3 separate regions of the Homo sapiens genome follow, and all the other regions are linked to region 1. Evidence: promoter capture Hi-C in 16 types of primary human blood cells and fetal thymus (Javierre and others, 2016). All regions are on one chromosome and are shown on one strand. The core of a region is centred on a gene start or on the middle of the fragment in contact, and the rest is flanking DNA. Distances in the headings are between cores, read along the strand shown.

Region 1 (2,725 bases), core at 58-2,557:
AATCACTTGAACCCGGGAGGCAGAGGTTGCAGTGAGCCGAGATGGTACCACTGCACTCCAGCCTGGGCGAGAGTGCAATGAGACTCCGTCTCCAAAAAAAAAAAAAAAAAGAAAAAAAGAAAAGTAAGTGGGGCACACGATTCAGGCCTAAGCTAACCAGACCAACCTCATTCCTGATGGTTGTTAATGTTTCAGATACGGGCCCGCAGCCCTACGTAGAGAAGAGGCCAAGGTAGAAAACATGAATCTGAGGTAAAAAGAAATGAGGTACTTGTTTGCCTCATCAAGCCTCTCAATTAAACTAACCTTGAAGCCTGTCTTACCTTTGGACTTCTAGTGATGTCACCCGGTAAAGCCCATTTGTTTCAGGACGTAAGAGTTGGGTTTTCTGTGACTTGGAACCAAAACCATTCCAATTTACAAAATGAGCAACTTTAATATTACCCATGAGAAATACTTCATTGGTATATGCTCTTTCCTAGCGTTTTTGAAAACTAAACTAGGTGGGTGAAAAGTATATCTTTGCATGAAACTTTTTCATTCCAGAAAACATTTTGTCATCTTGATAATAATGGCCAATGCTACTATATCCAAATTTTTGTCTTTTTTTTTTTTTGAGACAGAGTCTCGCTCTGCCGCTCAGGTGTGATGGCGCGATCTCGGCTCACTGCAACCTCTGCCTCCCTGGTTCAAGCGATTCTCCTGCCTCAGCCTCCCTGAGTAGCTGGGATTACAGGCATGCGCCACCACACCTGGCTAATTTTTGTATTTTTACTGTAGACGGGGTTTCACCATTTTGGCCAGGCTGGTCTCGAACTCCCGACTTCCAGTGATCCTCCTGCCTACCTCAAAAAGCAACTTGATAAATCCACAGGCTCGGTATATTTTAAAAATTCTTTTAAATACAGTATACTTTTCTCTTTTTTTCCAGAATTAACCATGAATCGCACACACAGCCAGAGGCTTTTAACCCGAGAACGGACAAAGGGGCCTGCTTGTGCAATACAATTATTTTTAATGGTTAAACAAATTAATACATAAGACCAGCTTTACCTAATATAATAATAACGAACCAAAGTTTACAACAGACAAGAAAAGCACCAGCTGTCCCCGCCACCCCGGAGCGATCTCCAAGGGGACGCGGGAGAGCGCCGCGGGGGACGCGGAAGTCTGACGTCACAGGAACTGGGGGCGGGGCGGGGAGGCCCGCACACCCTATTGCGCATGCTCCCGCCTCCCCGGCCGCGGCCTGGCGCAGTGCGCACGCGCGCGGGTGGGCGGGTTTGACTGGCCGTAGAGTCTGCGCAGTTGGTGAATGGCGTTGGTGGCGGGAAAGTTGAGTCTCTCCTGCGCCGAGCCTTCGGGGCGATGTGTAGTGCCTTCCATAGGGCTGAGTCTGGGACCGAGGTGAGAGCCGCCGGGTTGGGAGTGAGGGAGATGGGAACAAGGCCGCCGGTGGGCGAGGGGAGCCGAGGGAACCCGGGGGATTGGGAGGCTTGGGGCGGCGCGGCCTGGCCGGGCTGGGACCGGCCTCTCGGCCTAGACGCCCGCGATGCTGGCACCCTCTGCCACCTCTCACCTGGGCCCCAGGGGTCCGCCCCTGGGCAGCCTGGAGTCCTCCGAGGTGGGAGGACCGGGCGGAGGTGGAGGAAGTCTTTCTTTGGAAGACTTGCTGCCTGCCCAGATCGATATAACATACGAGGTCTCTCCTCCCAAGAGTTATGGTCTAAAAACCCCTCACAAATTAACTACCGTTGGAAATGTCAAGCTATGCAAGAAAAGCTAGAAAAGGGGAGGGGTCGCCCGTTGGAGCATTTGGAGCTTTTCTGGAACAGGTGGTGTTTGCGGAGGTTGCCTCACCTCCCTGTAGCCCACGTGTCTCTGCTTAGGGCAGCTGGCCCTCGCCACCCCCTAGTATTCGTTTCCAGCCCAGGTAGCTCCAGAGCCACACAAGCCGGTGGATGCCCCTCAAGAATTGAACCAAGTGTCCAGCACTTACTGTGTGTCAACTACGTGTTAAGGGATAGGAGTAAGCAACAAAAGACATAACTTCTGCCATTAAAGAACTAGTAAGGGAGGCTGCTGTAAGAATTACAGTATTGCACAAAAGTTTGTTGTCCATTAGAGGGGCGGGCATCATGGAAGATGCAGGAGGAGATGACTGAAGTTTCAAGGACCATTTGAAATGGTTTGGCAAGGAGAGGATGACATTCAGAGCGGAGACAGTCGGGAGTACATGGATTCTGAATTAAGCAAGAGCATGGCTAATTTAGATAACTGCAAGTATTTCTGTAAAATTGGAACAAAGGGAGTGAGGGACAATAGGTTGGGAAGTAAGCGCTGAGCAGTGGGCAGGGTATGAAGGATCTTTTATGCAGATGAGAGAGGAAGCAATCTCAAAAGAGTCAGCAAACATTTTTGTGGAGGGCCATGTGGTAAATATTTAGGCTTTGCAGGCCATGCCGTTTCTGTCACAGCCACTCAACTCTGCTGTTCTAATGGGAAGGCAGTCATAGATAAATAAAGGCACATGGCAGCGTTCCAATAAAGCTTTGTTTTTTGGATTTAGCCTGCTGGCCATAGTTTGATAATCCCTGTTCCTAAAGAGTAGAACCACTGCTTAGTATAAGAACGGCTACAGTTATAAACCATAGATATATATATATTTAAAAATATATTTATATATAATATATATTTAAAAATATATTTATATATAATATATATT
Region 2 (2,725 bases), core at 157-2,656, 540 kb after region 1:
TTTCTGTAAAATAAGAGAAACTTTTGTATTTATTATTGAATAAGTGAATGAAGCTATTTTTAAATAAAGTTAGAAGAAAGCCAAGCTGCTGCTGTTACCTGCAGAACTAACAAACCCTGTTACTTTGTACAGATATGTAAATATTTTGAGAAAAAATACAGTATAAAAATAGTTATTGACCAAATGCTACCAGGCTCTGCAGCAGCTCGGGGGCTTATAAAATGTTCATAGGGATGTTACAATATAATTTTGTGTTATAAAATATGCCATTATAATTATGTAATAACCAAAATTTCAACCTAGAGTGTTGGGGGTTTTTTGGAAACCGCAGTCTATTAGTACTCAATGGTTTTATACACCTTACTTCTGACAGAGCGGGGCGTATGCTACGACTACAACTTTTATAGCTGTTTTGGTAATTTAAACTAATTTTTTCATATTATATTGTTGCATCCCTACTTCTTCAGTCAGGTTTTTTTGTGCTTACAATTTGTGATAACTGTGAATAACTGCTTAAAAATACACCCAAATGGAGGCTGAATTTTTTCTTCAGCAAAAGTAGTTTTGATTAGAACTTTGTTTCAGCCACAGAGAATCATGTAAACGTAATAGGATCATGTAGCAGAAACTTAAATCTAACCCTTTAGCCTTCTATTTAACACAAAAATTTGAAAAAGTTAAAAAAAAAAAGGAGATGTGATTATGCTTACAGCTGCAGGACTCTGGCAATAGGGTTTTTGGAAGATGTAATTTTAAAATGTGTTTGTATGAACTGTTTGTTTACATTTCTTTAATAAAAAAAACACTGTTTTGTGTTTGCTTGTAGAAACTTAATCAGCATTTTGAACCAGGTTAGCTTTTTATTTTGTACTTAAAATTCTGGTACTGACACTTCACAGGCTAAGTATAAAATGAAGTTTTGTGTGCACAATTCAAGTGGACTGTAAACTGTTGGTATATTCAGTGATGCAGTTCTGAACTTGTATATGGCATGATGTATTTTTATCTTACAGAATAAATCAATTGTATATATTTTTCTCTTGATAAATAGCTGTATGAAATTTGTTTCCTGAATATTTTTCTTCTCTTGTACAATATCCTGACATCCTACCAGTATTTGTCCTACCGGGTTTTTGTTGTTTTCTGTTCTGTATAATAGTATCTAATGTTGGCAAAAATTGAATTTTTTGAAGTATACAGAGTGTTATGGGTTTTGGAATTTGTGGACACAGATTTAGAAGATCACCATTTACAAATAAAATATTTTACATCTATAAGAGCTGCCTAGAGCTTCTGTGTTAACTCCTCATATTCAAATTTGAGCTCTTAAATTGAGGATTGTCTGAAGTTCACTGACCATCTGATAGATCTTTCACAATTAGAGTGTTGATGCGATCAACTTGGTTTTCTTAGATTTTCAAATAAGTTTAGATGTAAATTCATAATTCATTCTAATTATGATACTTTTTCCTTCCCTTCGACTGAATAAAGAAGGGAACTTCTGTATCTTTTTAGGGTGTTTACCAAATTTAGAATATCCTTGGTGCCTTGTTCAAAGCCTGTTTTTGTTTAATTGGTAAATTTAGTCTTGGTTATGTTGCTGTTTTTTTTTTTTTTTTTTTTTTTTTGAGGCAGCTTTTCAGACTTTATTCTATGTGGTAGACTTTCTTTCTATCTTATTGAATTATTTAACGTATTAAATATAAAGGGGTTAAGAAAAAAACTGCTCAGAATCCCCTTTAGTTTCTAGGACAGATTTTTAACTGGGACTTCGCTAACACTAAAATAGCCAGCATTCCTAGTCCACCATGGAGCTTGCCTTCTAGTGAGGGGCACGGACAAAAACAGGTGACTTTTTTAGATGGGAGGTGGGCTGGGAGTCCCGTGGGGGCATTCTAAGGAGGCAGCATTTAAGCAAGACCTGAAGGATGAAGAGGAGCTGGGAGCGTGGCAGAGGCTTGCCTGGCAGAGGGGACAACTCATACAGGAGCCTTGAGATCTGAAAGAGGCTGATGCTGCCAGTAACTGAAAGGCAGGTGTGGCTGGGACAGAGTGGCAGGAGGTGAGATGAGAGAAAAGCAAGGGTGAGTGGCGCAGGTTTAGCTCGCGTGGGTCAGCAGGAAGCTGCTGCCGGACGGTGCTGAGTTCCCACTGTGCATAGAGGTGACACGCTGCCCAGAAGAGGTGGCCCGCCTGTGGGCACCAGCGTGTGTACACTGAGGCTGAGTGGGCTCCGTACGAGTCCCAGGAGGAGCAAGGGGTGCCCTGGGCTAGGCGGATGGTCGTGACATGGAGGGAGCTGGCAGCAGCTGAGGTGTTTTGCATGTAGATGGCTCAAACATTTCCCATTTCAAAACCGCCTTGTCTCAAGTCTCTCCTCAGCTTCTCCTATCCTCCTTTGGCCCCATGTCACGTGGAGGCTGCACTGCCCTCTGTCCTAGTCACCAAACAGAAACAAACACACTTAGTCTGATGTGGTGTCCGATGCGGTAGATGATCATCTGGCCATTAGGGTTTCCTGTCTCTGGTGGCGGTGGCAGCCGCTGTCTCTGAAATTCTCTCCAGCCCCTGCTTGTGGAGCAGAACCCTTTCCTGGCTTTCTTCCCACATTGCTGCTTTAATCTTTTCCCTCTAAGGTCTCTACCCCATTCTTTTTTCATCATTAAGGTATGTATTTAATAGTAATCTGAAAAACAGCCTTCGGGAGGCCAAGGCGGGAGCCTCA
Region 3 (2,725 bases), core at 108-2,607, 520 kb after region 1:
CAGCCTAATGTACCATTTCCTCCAACAAGCAATGGTGAGCTAGTGAGCTTTTTGTTAACCCCAAATCCATTCCTGATTCAAAAGTTAAGCTTACTCTTTGAGATACTGATTATCTTTTAACAACGGACAGGTAACATGCTGGCGTATAGTCCTTGGTGAACTTACCATGTGTGGGTGTTCTGTTTTCTGTGCTGTGATTTTGACCTCTAGTGCTTTGGCCTGTGTATTCTGTCATGCTGTCACCAGGGGCTATGTGAGTGCCAGCCATCTGTGCAGGCTGCCAGAAGAAGCCTGTGACGGGCTTGCCCTTGAGCAGCTTTTGTTCTTCCTGTCTCCCAACCCCCATCCCGCTGCACCTGGGCCACCTGGTACAGATGGGGCTGGTGACCTGACGTGGGTTCTGTTTCCTGTTCTCCTCTGCTTTCCATCCTCACCTACCTCTTGTTTTACCTCTGCACCAGCTCTATAGGGCCCTTCTCTTCCCACAGAGGTGTTCATGCCCCCCATCTCTGAGAATGGAACAACTTCCTTAGACCGACCATGATGTCGCTTTCCTTCCTGCCTCACTGGCAATCTTACAGGCGTGCTCAGTCCAGGCCCTGGCTTCCTCCTCTTGGCTTCTAGCTGTTCTGTCACTTTTTCCCTGCTCCTTTTTGCCTTCACACTGCACCTGAATGATGCTTTCTAATTCCTGAGTCCTTATTTACCTTCTTATCCTTGGCCTTGGCTCTTTCCTCATTTCTGACTCTGCAAGTCACACTTATTTAAGACTCTTATACATATGTCATTGTATCTTTCATAAAATGTTTTTTTACCATCTTAACCTGCAAGCAAAAGTAATATCTGTTTCCCTCTCTGTCTTACTTTGTACTTAGACTGAATAGTAATCTCTCTTGGTGACTTAGTTTTATTAGATTCTTCTTTTATACTGCCATTGCTTTCCCAGCTATTTGAGAATAGGCATGTTTCTTTATTTTTGCCCTAGTGTCAGATAATCGACTCTGTAACCATTGCTTAGAAGATAAATTTTTTTTATTAATTAAAGAATAATGTTAATGAACCATGTTGTAATGAGTTGATACTGCATAATTTTTCACCATGTGCCACCTTGTGTCATCAGTCAGTTTTAATTACTAACAAAAGTTGATTGCCTTTAGGTCTTTCTGGATATAAGGATTCTAGTCATGGTATTGCAGAAAGCGCAGCACTCAGACCACAGTGGTGTTGTCATTGTAAAGTGGTTATTCTTGGAAGTGGTGTGCGGAAATCTTTCAAAGATCTGACCCTTTTGAACAAGGTACTTTGCTACTCCTTTTATGACCCCACCTCCTACCTCCAGCGAAAATGTCCTTGGCAGTGTCTCTTCCAACATCAGAGAGAGACACCACTTATGGTGGTGTGATGGACACATGTTCCTGGTGATGGCACCAGCGTATATCAGATGTGCTTGGGCTGAACACCAAAGAGCTACAACAGGCTGTTAAAGGGAATATTATGAGGACTACGTATTTTTAAATAGAGTGAACCGTGGACCACATAGTTTGGTTTTATACATGTATTTTTTCCCTAGCTAAATTATCACATGCTAAATATTGGAACATAGTTTCCTTTCTACTATTAAGATAAAGAACCACTGTCACTTTTGAATATAACATAAAAATAATGTATAGATCCTGTTTTTATTAAATTTTGACTTGTTGAGATTCCCACACATTTCTCTTTGCTTTTCAGGATTCCCGAGAAAGCACCAAGAGGGTAGAGAAGGACATTGTCTTCTGTAGTAATAACTGCTTTATTCTTTATTCATCAACTGCACAAGCGAAAAACTCAGAAAACAAGGTGAGATTAGGATAATCTCAGCTGATAACAATGTGTAACGAGTGACTTCTGTGTTCTGGGCATATGGGAGTGAATAAAGATGTGTCCCTGCCTTCATGGAGCTCTGTGTGGGGAATCCAAAGCAGGTGCTGACCCGGCAGAGGAGGAGAGGGTGTAGGGAGCCTTGAGTCGTGCTACTCTTTCAACTTAGTTATTTGACAGAAGTGGGCAGAGTTATGTTTTAAAAGTTCAGTAAACAGAACACTAATATTAAAATCTTTAATTTTACCAGTTTAATTTTTTTTTGAGATGGAGTCTCATTCTGGTCCCACAGGCTGAAGGGCATTGGCACCTCTTGGCTCACTGCAGACTCTGCCTCCCAATTCAAGCAATTCTCCTGCCTTAGCCTCCTGAGTAGCTGGGATTACAGGTGCGTGCCACCACGCCCAGCTAATTTTTGTAGTTTAGTAGAGATGGGGTTTCACCATGTTGGCCAGGCTGGTCTCAAACTCCTGACCTCGTGATCCGCCCACCTCAGCCTCTCAAAGTGCTGGGATTACAGGTGTGAGCCACTGCGCCCGGCCGTAAATATCTTAATATTTTAAAATCATTTTTATTGATGTTACCCCAATAGGAAAACCTGTTTAAAGATAAAATTTAAGACTATTTGTGCATTTTAAGAGAAAACACTTTGCTCACAGTATGGTGAAAGAGGTCTGCTTTACTTGATTTTATGTAATTTGAGTGTGTCCAACTAATGGTTGATACAAATGATATGTTTATAATCATGTTTTGAAGGAAGCTTTTCCTGTACAGTAATACTGCCAGTCATTCCTCCATCCAGGTTATTGCTCTGGTATGTCTTTCACAGAAGAACATTCTGAAGACTTATTTTTAACAGGTAGTT

Evidence for each region. The method cuts DNA at HindIII sites, captures the fragments that hold promoters and counts their contacts. A CHiCAGO score of 5 or more calls a contact.
Region 2: a fragment that was not itself captured here is called in contact with the fragment with the promoter of XRCC2 in region 1 in 1 of 17 cell types (fetal thymus); the score reaches 5.4 in fetal thymus.
Region 3: a contact is called between a fragment that was not itself captured here and the fragment with the promoter of XRCC2 in region 1, in 5 of 17 cell types (total B cells, erythroblasts, non-activated CD4 T cells and 2 more). The highest score is 7.5, in total B cells.

The regions. Positions count from the first base shown.
Region 1 is chr7:152,674,723-152,677,447 of GRCh38, reverse strand. It overlaps XRCC2 (X-ray repair cross complementing 2), which reads left to right and starts at 1,307. Exons shown (of 3, transcript NM_005431.2): 1 at 1,307-1,407. The coding sequence starts at 1,369. RefSeq lists silencers at 1,061-1,530, 1,831-1,920 and an enhancer at 986-1,830. The HindIII fragment of the contact is 16,438 bases long and covers 1-2,552 here.
Region 2 is chr7:152,133,477-152,136,201 of GRCh38, reverse strand. KMT2C (lysine methyltransferase 2C) reads left to right here. Exons shown (of 59, transcript NM_170606.3): 59 at 1-1,277. LOC731075 (a long non-coding RNA gene) reads left to right here and starts at 1,630. Exons shown (of 3, transcript XR_001745432.2): 1 at 1,630-2,725. The HindIII fragment of the contact is 3,825 bases long and covers 1-2,725 here.
Region 3 is chr7:152,150,014-152,152,738 of GRCh38, reverse strand. It overlaps KMT2C (lysine methyltransferase 2C), which reads left to right. Exons shown (of 59, transcript NM_170606.3): 49 at 1-34; 50 at 1,158-1,297; 51 at 1,732-1,839. Among named protein-coding and RNA genes, the nearest start is that of GALNT11, 130 kb to the right of the region's middle. The HindIII fragment of the contact is 2,531 bases long and covers 92-2,622 here.